Linked DNA regions of Homo sapiens: regions 2 and 3 are each linked to region 1. Evidence: promoter capture Hi-C in 16 types of primary human blood cells and fetal thymus (Javierre and others, 2016). All regions are on one chromosome and are shown on one strand. Each heading gives the region's core, a stretch centred on a gene start or on the middle of the fragment in contact. The rest is flanking DNA. Distances are from core to core; before and after follow the strand shown.

Region 1 (3,704 bases), core at 1,052-3,551:
AAAGTAAGAATTTTAATACATGTAGCTCACCTGAAAGTTTTCTTTGCATGCTGCCACATTTACATCTGTTCCCCAGATCACAAGTTTTTGGCCTAGAGACTGCTCACTTGCCACTATATCTTCTGCTGCTGCCTACACAGAAAAACATGACAGAATCATGAAAACAGAGTTACCCACATGATACCCGCCATAAGATGGTTTCAGGAGACTGCATACTCACCCCGTCAGACTGCAGATCCACTTGCAGGCCCTTCTGTGCAGAGCCCAGGTCAGGCCTCTGTCTCACAGGTGTGCCCCTAACACCACTTCTTGGGGTTCCCTCTACCCGAGAGCTGGGAGTGCCGTATGTCAGTGGTGAACTAACATCAAAGTCAAGAGGGATAGCTATAAAAACAAAATTAGGAAATTCTGGTGGCATATCAAACCTGAAATTACAGCATGTTGTCTGTTGATCTATACCATCTAATCGCAACAGCAAACTGAATATTTATTGCAACCTGCGGTGGCTGAGATTCTGAGCACTCTTAAATGTTCTATTAAAAAAAAGCACCAGAGAAGCTGCTTCCTCTGCTCACTAAGCCCTAAAACTACTATTTTCTGCACTCCGTTCAGCTCCTCTGGTTAAGAACATGCTCAGTCACGTGCAGAGGGGATGCTTTAGGCGTTATGCCAACTGTTATAAAGCCAGTAAACCTGAGCAGATAAAGCATCAGCTGTGTATCAAGCACAGCAAAACCAAGATCTTCAGACACGCACCTGAAGAATGCATTTGGGGAGGGCTGGAAAACAGCACGTCCTGCGCAGCAGGGCTCTGCAGGTCCACTCCAGGCGAGGTTGGCATCGGCTGCAACTCCCCCGTGGAGGTGGAATCCTCGCCTCTACGTCTCTGAGAGGGAGATGACCTGGCATCCTCACTCCGAGCTTGTGTCACACAAAACAGAAAAGACAGCCATTAACTTTCAGGGCCGGCCTTCCTGGATTTGTCTTTTCCTTGGGGCATTATGACTCACCACTGAACCAAACCAAACAGAGGCAAATGGCAATCGAATTAAGCAGCACCCAGGCCACAGCCTGCTGTGGGTGTCTGTGCGCACCAAGCGGCAGCGCCCAGCCCGAGGCTGAGCGCCCGGGTCCCGCGCACCCACCCAGCGCTGCCAGCTGCGGCGAGAGGGCAGACGGGGCGGCGCCGGGGGCTGTAGTGGGCCCGGCTCGGGGGACTCACGCGTCTGGGCGGGGGTGGCCCTTCCACGCCGGCTGCCGCGGCGGCTCGGGGTCGACGCCGGGGACGACATAGTGCTCGGAGTACCTGCGCGACAAGGACAAGCTCGGGCCGGGCCCGCCTCCCGGCTTCCCTGCCCTGCTCCGCAGCGCGGACGTTCCCGTCGGCTCCGCGCCACGCCCTCCCCGCCGGCGCGCGGTTACCGTGGAAAGGCGGCCGCTTGCCGACGACGCTCGCGGACTCCGAGTCCACCTGGCGAGTAGCGCTCCCAAACCGCGAGACCCAGAGTTCCCGCCGGCGGCAAGGTCGTCTCCGCCCCTGGCGGGGCCTCACCAATCACAGCGGCGCTCGTACGTGGCTCCGCCTCCGGGAGGCGCCACTGCGCATCGGCAGGGGGGGACAGTGCCGCTTCTTTCAGCGCCCGTGCGTAAACCAGAAGTAGGCCTCGCTCGGCCCCCCTTGGTCCAGATGGTCTGACCCCCTGCGCGGCAGCGTTTTCGCGGGAAAACTGGGTCCTACAGCACCAGCTCTCGGGGTGTGTTCCTCTAGCGTTGGCTAGGGAGCGTGTGCTTCTTTATCCCTTAGGCGTTTTTGGTTAATAAGGACATTACAGATGCATTTCTCACTTAAAGATTTTTTTTATTAAAAAAAATTAAGGACGGGAGGTGGTGGGGATGGTCTCATTATGTTGCCCAGACTGGTCTCGAACTCCTGCGATCCCCCCGCCTCAGCTTCCTAAAGTGTTGGGACTGCAGGCGGGCATCACCGCCCCCGACCGCGTTTGTCGTTTTTTATCGAGGAACAAACTTGGAACTCTTGACCTAGGCCCCTCGCTTGTTTTATCTGCCTCTGGTATTTATTTAGCCAAGTCCAACACCAAGTAGCCACCCAAACTACCTCCGCAGGTCAGACGTTTTTCCTTAGGTTTCCATGTTGATTCGGGCCAAAGAGGCGCGCTTACTGGCCAGGCCTTCCCGCAGGGGTCCCCGGGAAAGTTCCTGCCGCCGCGCCCCGCAGCCCCGCCTCCGCGCGTAGGGGCATTTCCGGGTCCGGGCCGAGCGGGCGCACGCGCGGGAGCGGGACTCGGCGGCATGGCGGGCTCCGGAGCCGGTGTGCGTTGCTCCCTGCTGCGGCTGCAGGAGACCTTGTCCGCTGCGGACCGCTGCGGTGCTGCCCTGGCCGGTCATCAACTGATCCGCGGCCTGGGGCAGGAATGCGTCCTGAGCAGCAGCCCCGCGGTGCTGGGTGGGTACCGGCCCGAGCTGGGCCGCGGGTGGGTCCTGGCTTCCCGAGTCGTTCTGGAGCCGGGCAGCCCGGCGCTTCTCTGTGTTTAGATGACGGTATTTTGAAGTACAGCAATTAGATTCTTGGGGGAATTTCTGTGTATGTGTATAAAGGGATTTGTCATACTGCTTTTTACCCCCTAGTATTAGAGGAAAGATATTTTAAAGCCAAAGTTGGTGAAAACGACCCCTAATATGGCAATCATTGCTATGCAGAGTGGGGGGCAGGGCAAGAGAAATAATTTTTTTTTTTTTTGAGACGGAGTCTCGCTCTGTCGCCCAGGCTGGAGTGAAGTGGCGCGATCTCGGCTCACTGCAACCTCCGCCTCCCGGGTTCAAGCTATTCTCCTGCCTCAGCCCCCCGAGTAGCTGGGATTACAGGCGCGCGCCACCACGCCCGGCTAATTTTTTTGTATTTTTAGTAGAGATGGGGTTTCACCATGTTGGTCAGGCTGGTCTCGAACTCCTGACCTCGTGATCCCCCCGCCTCGGCCTCCCAAAGTGCTGGGATTACAGACGTGAGCCACCGGGCCCGGCCAAGAGAAAGTATTTTCTTTCACCTGAATCTCGCCTAATCCCACCAGTACCTTTTCCAAACCCCTCTATTTGCCGTTCCTACTTTGAGAAAAATTGAAGAAATGTAATTGAAGTCATGTTCTTTTAACTCTTTAGCAATGCCTGGGTGGGAACTTTTTCCCCTTTGTAGTAAAAGTGCCTCTTTTTAGCATTTTAAATATTCAAATACTTAATTATGTGGATCTCCTGTATTCCTTCTTTAAAACACGAGTATGCAGACCTTGATGTTGTGCCCTATTAAAAGGTGAGATTTTCTTCCGGAGGGTCTAGTAGTGAATATGGTGTAGGAATAACTTAAACAGTTTAAACTAGATGCTATATGTGGCACGGTGCGGTGGCTCATGCCTGTAATCCCAGCACTTTGGGAGGCTGTGGCAGCTGGATCACCTGAGGTCAGGAGATGGAGACCAACCTGACCAGTATGGTGAAACCTTGTCTCTACTAAAAATACAAAAATTAACTGGGCATGGTGGCGAGCGCCTGTAGTCCCAGCTATTCGGGAGGCTGAGACAGGAGAATGTCTTGAACCCAGGAGAAGGAGATTGCAGTGAGCCGAGATTGTGCCACTGCACTCCAGCCTGGGCAACAGAGCACGACTCCGTCCCAAAAAAAAAAAAAAAAAGATG
Region 2 (3,259 bases), core at 199-2,698, 1.0 Mb after region 1:
TCATTAAGACAGAACTCCTTCTGCCTGACTGCCTTTGAGCTGGGACATGAGCTTTCTCCTGCCTTCACACTCCAACTGAAACATGAGTTCTTCCTGGGTCTCAAGCTGCCAGCATTTGGACTGGAACCTGCTGGGTCTCTTGATGACTGCAGACCTTAGGACTTAGCCCCCATAATACTCGTTATATATAATTATGTCATATATCTAATTAATATAAATTACATAGTTATATAAATTGATATGAATGTATAATACTTGTAAACATATAATGTATATCATATGTAAGTATTTCTCTAGGGAACACTGACTGATACACCCATCCAGCCCGCAGCTGGTTCTGGCTGTACTGCCAGGGTTCTTTGCTCCATGCTGAATGTCTAAGTCAGGTCTTGTTGCTAATTATGCAAGAGTGATGGAAACCCCTAACACCAAGAAATCATTCAAAGAAAACATTATTTTTCCATTTTATCTCTCTTTTGCAAGATAGTAAGATCTCATCAATACTTACCCTAGATCAGTATCAAAGAGAAGAGAGTTCAGCAAAGACAACACAGGGAAGAGAAATTGAAAGGTATCAATGGCCCTTATGTGCCATCTATAAGATAAATAAAATTCTACCTTATTTAATTCACATGTCAATTTGATTTGGGCAGTGATGCAATCAGTCTCAGACATGAAGAAAGCAGTACTCTGAGAGATAAAGTTGCCCATCCACAGTTCATAACCAGTGAGTGGTGGAGCTGAGAGGAAAGCCTCCTGCCCCATAGCCTCATCCCCTCCCCTAGCTAACCGTGGGCCACCATGACAAGTCCACCCGTCCTGGAGCCCACACTCACCCCTAGCCCTGCCATGCTCACCTTGAGCCTCACGCACTTCTCAGTTCTCCCCTGATCCTCCTACAGCATGGACCTGGGCAGACATCCTGTGAACTGCTTGAGTGCAGTCAGGAACCCAGGCCCCCCAGAGTGCCAAGGAGTCAGGTTTCACCTGACCCCTCAGTCCAGAGACAATGACTGACTTCAGACACATCTAGCAACAGCCTCAAGCAGAGCACTGAGCTGCGCCTGCTGGATACAGGGCTATTACTCACCTCAGATTTCTCCTGTCCTCTGTGAAATGGCAAATAAATAATGGCCCCTAATCTGCCCTAGGCTCAGATCTGCCTTTGCACCTAATAGCTGTGTCCTGTGACCCTTCCTTCCCCTCTTGTAGCCCTGCCTCCTCACCACGGCCCCCCCAATACTCTTCTTTTACATCTTCTCAACTTGAACTCTGCTGCAAGTGAGAGGAAGTAAAAGAAGAGTATTGTGAACCCACATCTCACTGTGCACTCTAACCATGCCCCCATCTGTCATGATGCTTGACACAACCCAGCCCAGTGGTTAAAGGATGTGATTCCAGAGCCTGAGCCCCTGGGTTGGTCTTAGCTCTGCTGTGGTTCCTAGAAGTGTGACCTTGGCAGTCACTGTGAACTCTGCTCACTGGGTTCCTCATATGTAATGTGAGGAATATTGCGAGGGCTAAGGGAGTAGGTACAGAGGAGAAGCAAAACAGTGTGCCTGGGGAAAGTCATCAGCACTGGTGAGAATCATAGAGTGATGCACTGGGCACAGAAGGGAGGTGGTCTTAAGGAGTGATAGGCAGAGAGCGTGAGGGTGGCGTCCAGATCCTGGGAAATCTGCTTTGATGCAGCGCTGGTTTCTTGGTGTAAGTCAGTGATTAATAAATCGTCATGCTGTGTGCTGATGATGTTTACATTTTCTGTCTTTGTATTATACTTTTAAAGTCAACATTTTAAAAATAATGCCTGGAAATTTAATAATAATTCCTGGGAGGTGATCAGACCTCTAAAAGCTGTGGAGATGGTGAGGTCCAAGCATATCTCTAAGGAAGAAAAGAAAATTTCATGAATATCTGGGGTAAAGTTGGGGTAAAGAGGAAATTGCATTAAGGGAGATGATATATAGATAAGAAAGATAGGTATAAGAGAGACATAGATTAATTGGTGATAGGTGATAGATAATAGATTGATTGATTAATTAATAAATGACAGATAAATAGATGAATGTATGACAGATGATAGTTGATGGATGACAGATGGATGATATAAATTAATAGGTACCAGATAGATGAGGATAGATTGAAACAGTGATTGTGATAGACAGTTGATAGATAATTGATTAATAAGTGATAGATGATAGATAATTGATTGATAGATCAATAGGTGATAGATAATAGACAGATGATACATGACAATTGCTGATAAATAGATAGATGATGAGTAGGTGGATGGGTGAATAGATGGATAGATGATGAGTAGATGGATGGGTGAATAGATAGATAGATGATAGAAAGAACAGTTATGGGTGACAAGTAGGAAGGACCAGAGAAGAGAGGGGAGAATAATGGGGGCCTTGGGGTTACTTCCTCCTTTGTCCCCTCCCTAAGCTCAAGACCCCTTTGTGACTGTACCATATCTTTGTGATGCGGGTCAGGAACTCTAGTCTAGAGAGCACATTCTCTGCTCAGTTGCCCGGGGAAGCCACTAGCTACAGATGCTGGAGAATTTGGGCTGGTTTCTTCTGCATTTTAACAATCCCTGGGGCTTTCTTTGGTTCTTTCTTTATTTGAGTGAGGTTGAGATCATCTTTCTATCATGTCTCTGCATTCAGTGATATCCATATTTATCCATGTTTGAAAAGACACAGACATCAATCTGGTAAGGAATCCCAAGGGCTGCCCACATTAGAGGTTAACTTCTGTTTTCCTATTCCTATTTTCTCTTTTCATAATCTATCCTTGGGATGGAGAGACCTCAGGAATGGGAACTCTCGGGGGACATTAGAATAGCATTGGTCTAGGAGAACAGGTTGGGCAGCACAGAAGGTAGGTGGGGACAAAGGCTTTTATCCAAAAGTTACAGACCATTTGCCCAGGTGTGGTAAAATCACAAATACCATGGAATTCAGGCCCATAGATTGGTTTGTTAAAGAATTCAGGACACCAGAGGGGAACAGGCCCTCAAGAGTTGCTCACCAGCAGCCTTTCCGTCACAGGAGGCTCTGGGCCACAACTCTCCTAAGAGTTAGGGCTGAGCTGGAGAGCAGTGCTGACCTGTGAGAGGCTCTGGCTGCTTTCTACTCCTCCATTTGTCCTCAGGAGGCAGAATCCTAGAGAATGGAGCAGAAGTTCCCAAAGGTCTGCAAATCTGTGCTCTTTCTCAGTAGAGGACTTTCCAGGAGTCCCAGGACTGCTGTCT
Region 3 (3,364 bases), core at 743-3,242, 1.1 Mb after region 1:
TGGTGCAGGTCTCTCTCCTTCCCTGGTTGCTAACACATGCTTGAACTGGCAACCAGGCAGCTGGCTCTGTCTTAAATTCCATAACCCCTGCATCCCAGCACACACAATTGCATAATTATAGTGTCTCTGAGGATTGCTCTTCATGCAGATGAATTCACCCCCAGGAGTGTGGGTAGGTTTTAACTGGGGATTAGCCTGTCAGTGCTTGGCTCTCCCTCAAGAACCACTAAACAGTCTGCCTGGAGGTTCCAGAGCCTCCTCTGTCAGCATACTACCTCCTAGGAGGTAGCAGAGGCCCCTGAAACTGTAAGGCCAAGAGGGGGCCATACAGTCGGCACAGTGGGTGCTGCCAGGCAGGGAACACTTGGTCAGCATTCAGCAATCCATTACTACTGGGATTATTTCTACTCTCCATGGCAACCTCAGGCTTGGAGCTGGGCATGCAGATTCTGCCTCTGTGAGGCTCAGTTTCCTTCTTTCTAAAAAGTGTTAAGAAACATCATTTGGGGCAGGCCTCAGGGCAGCCTTGTTGAGACTCTCATGGGGTTCAGCCACAGCTCAACTGTAGGTGACAGGTGCTGGGCATCAAGTGAGAGGAAGGCTTCATATGCCACTTGTGCATTTTCAGAATGTGTCCATAGGCTTGTCAGGACACCTGGATAAAAACTGTCTTGTTCCCCAGTGTTGGGCAACTGCAGGCAACGTCACCAGCACTGGTGGCACCAGCTGGAGCAGCCACACTGGAGTTTCTCCTTCCTGATGAGAGACCTCTTTCCCCTTTTTAGGGTGGTGAGCCATGAGCACACACAGGCTGCCTCTGTGGTTGGAGGTGGCCAGGCTGGGGTGGGGCAGTGGGGACTCCCTGAGAACAGGAGATGTCCCCAAACCCTAGCTCTGTCACACACTGGCAATGTGAGCCAGGAAATTGCCTTAGCCTCCCTTGGCCCTAGTTTTCTCATCTATAAAATAGGAATAAAACATGTTAGTGTGAGTAAATTAAATAGAAGACTGCATGGAAAGATAATTTTATGGTACAAAGGGCTGGTATATGTGTAAGCTTTCTTTCAGATACATACTTTGGAGTAAAAGTGGTGGCCATAGGTTAAGTCAAGCTTGTCCAACCTGCAGGCCACATGCAGCCCAGGATGGCTTTGAATATGACCCAACACAAATTTGTAAATTTTCTTAAAGCATTATGAGTTTTTTATCTCATCAGTTATTGTTAGTGTTAGTGTATTTTGTGTGCGGCCCAAGACAATCCTTTTTCTTCCAATGTGGCCCAGGGAAGCCAAAAAATTGGACACCCCTGGGTTAAGTCACTTCAGCATTAGTATTGCCCAGTTGCTCCTTAAAGTGGCTGAACCCTTTTGTACTCCAATCAGCAGTGTATGATAATTCAACTTAAATGTCCAGTAACCTTAATTAATAGAATGTGGCAGATTATTCAGTGGAAAATTTTAAGACAGTGAGAAATAATTAATTATATGTCCACACAGATGAATGTCAAAACATTATGGAATGAAAAAGGAAATAACAGGAGGACAGCACCAGTGTCACATCATTTCTTAAGGTTAAAATTCTGGGAAAGAGCACAGTAGGTCACATGATACACACACAGGCCTGGGGAGGATCCCGGCAGCAGGGAGGCTAAGGCTGGTGTGCAGGCTTTTCCTGAAATGCGGCGTTTTGTGTCCTGAGCTCTGTGTGTAGGCACACACACTTATGACAATATTCATACGCCTTTTTCTATGTCTTCAAGATTGCACATTTTTTTAAAAAAATTAATGAAAATATAGTGTTCCGAAAATATATATATATTTTTCTTATCTTTGTACCTTGATCTGTCTCCCTGAATGGGGAGAATGAGGTATAATTTTCCTGCCTCAAGTCTGAAAGAGAGGTGGGCCTGTGTAGAAAATTAAACAGAGCCTGTCCCCTCCTCTTGAGGAGGACAGGGGGTCCTGGCTAATACTCCTGCAGGCAGTCACCTTCATGGGATATCTTCTGCGTGAGCCAAGCCCAGAAAGCATCCAGGGAGCTGGGGCAAGGGAGCTGGCTCTCCTAAATGATTACTCCATGCAGGCCTACAGCCGGGGAACCTAGAAAGACCCAGGACTTGCACTCTCAACTGGGAGGGGAGAAACGGGCCTGTGAGGCTCTCCTGAGAGCAGCTGAATGGGGGCCAAAACTGAGAGGCAGAAGACACCCCAAGTCACCCAGCACACTGCTTTTCTTTCTTTCTTTCACATATGAAGATACTGAGGACAGTGATCCCTGGGCTGCAGGTGGGACCATCAGGAGGATGGGACATGACTCTGTGGAATGCAGACTCCAGCCAGTGGGGCCGGCTCCACCTTCTCTAACCGGCTTCACTACCTGCAGGGGAACGTGTGGGCTTTTCAGCTGTGCTCTCCAGGTCTCCAGGCTATCTGTTCCCAGCCTGCTTTCTAGATCCATCTCCTGGCTGCTTCCTAATGCCCTGCACACCCCTCCTGCTGGTGCCCTGAGGCCGGCAGTGTGTTCCACCTGCTTTCTTCACAGTGTTCTATCAGCCTGTGTATCATCTTTGCTGGACTTCATAAGCTGGCTGTCAGGGCTATCTTGGTCATGCCCTGTTCAATTTCATCTTCCTGATACCCCTGTGGGTTTTGTAATAATAGTCCTTTATTTTTGCAGCCCGTAGATGTAGTGTTTGTTTGTTTCTCTGAGCCTCCTTCTGAGGCAAGTTTCTTCATCTGCACTTTATGGATGAGGGCACAGCACAGCAAGCTAAAGGCCCATCCTGAGGCTGTGCAGTGAGCCAGTCGCTGAGGCTGTTCTCCTGACTCCCGTTCTACACATACTGCTTGTCTCCAAAATTGTCCCAAGCTTCCATTTTAGTACGTGCCATATGTGCATTTATCTTCCAGTTCTTTTTAAAAGCGTTGTGGGCAGTGTATTAGTCCTTTCTCATACTGCTAATAAAGAGACATATCTGAGACTGGGTAATTTATAAAGAAAATAGGTTTAATGGATTCACAATTTCGCAGGGCTGGGGAGGCCTCAGGAGACTTAAATCATGGCAGAAGGGGTAGCAAACGTGTCCTTCTTCACATGGCGGCAGCAAGAAGGGCGGAGAGAATGGGGGAGAAGCCCCTTGTAAAACCATTAGACCTCACGAGAACTCACTCACTAACATGAAAATAGCATGGAGGTAACCGCTGTTATTATTAAATTATGTCCCTCCTATGACACTTGGGGATTATGGGAACTACAATTCAAGATGAGACTTGGGTGTGGACACAGCCAAACTATATCAGGCAGGAATCATTTTTTTACTCAGTTTTGCATTCCTCCAGCTCTTCTCAGCATTTGGTTTGTAGTT

The links. Contacts are between HindIII fragments. The CHiCAGO score rates a contact against its expected background, and 5 or more counts as called.
Region 2: a fragment that was not itself captured here is called in contact with the fragment with the promoter of PRKDC in region 1 in 2 of 17 cell types (total B cells and monocytes); the score reaches 6.4 in total B cells.
Region 3: a contact is called between a fragment that was not itself captured here and the fragment with the promoter of PRKDC in region 1, in 1 of 17 cell types (naive B cells). The highest score is 10.4, in naive B cells.

The regions. Positions count from the first base shown.
Region 1 is chr8:47,958,733-47,962,436 of GRCh38, reverse strand. PRKDC (protein kinase, DNA-activated, catalytic subunit) reads left to right here and starts at 2,301. Exons shown (of 86, transcript NM_006904.7): 1 at 2,301-2,464. The coding sequence starts at 2,311. It overlaps MCM4 (minichromosome maintenance complex component 4), which reads right to left and starts at 1,496. Exons shown (of 17, transcript NM_182746.3): 1 at 1,423-1,496; 2 at 1,223-1,306; 3 at 757-921; 4 at 221-384; 5 at 31-132. The coding sequence starts at 1,292. RefSeq lists silencers at 1,063-1,462, 2,133-2,432, 2,443-2,492 and an enhancer at 2,673-2,832. The HindIII fragment of the contact is 8,899 bases long and covers 1-3,704 here.
Region 2 is chr8:46,951,123-46,954,381 of GRCh38, reverse strand. It overlaps LOC105375814 (a long non-coding RNA gene), which reads left to right and starts at 2,498. Exons shown (of 3, transcript NR_188092.1): 1 at 2,498-2,719. The HindIII fragment of the contact is 7,979 bases long and covers 1-3,259 here.
Region 3 is chr8:46,908,473-46,911,836 of GRCh38, reverse strand. No RefSeq gene overlaps it. Among named protein-coding and RNA genes, the nearest start is that of LINC00293, 69 kb to the right of the region's middle. The HindIII fragment of the contact is 1,756 bases long and covers 1,115-2,870 here.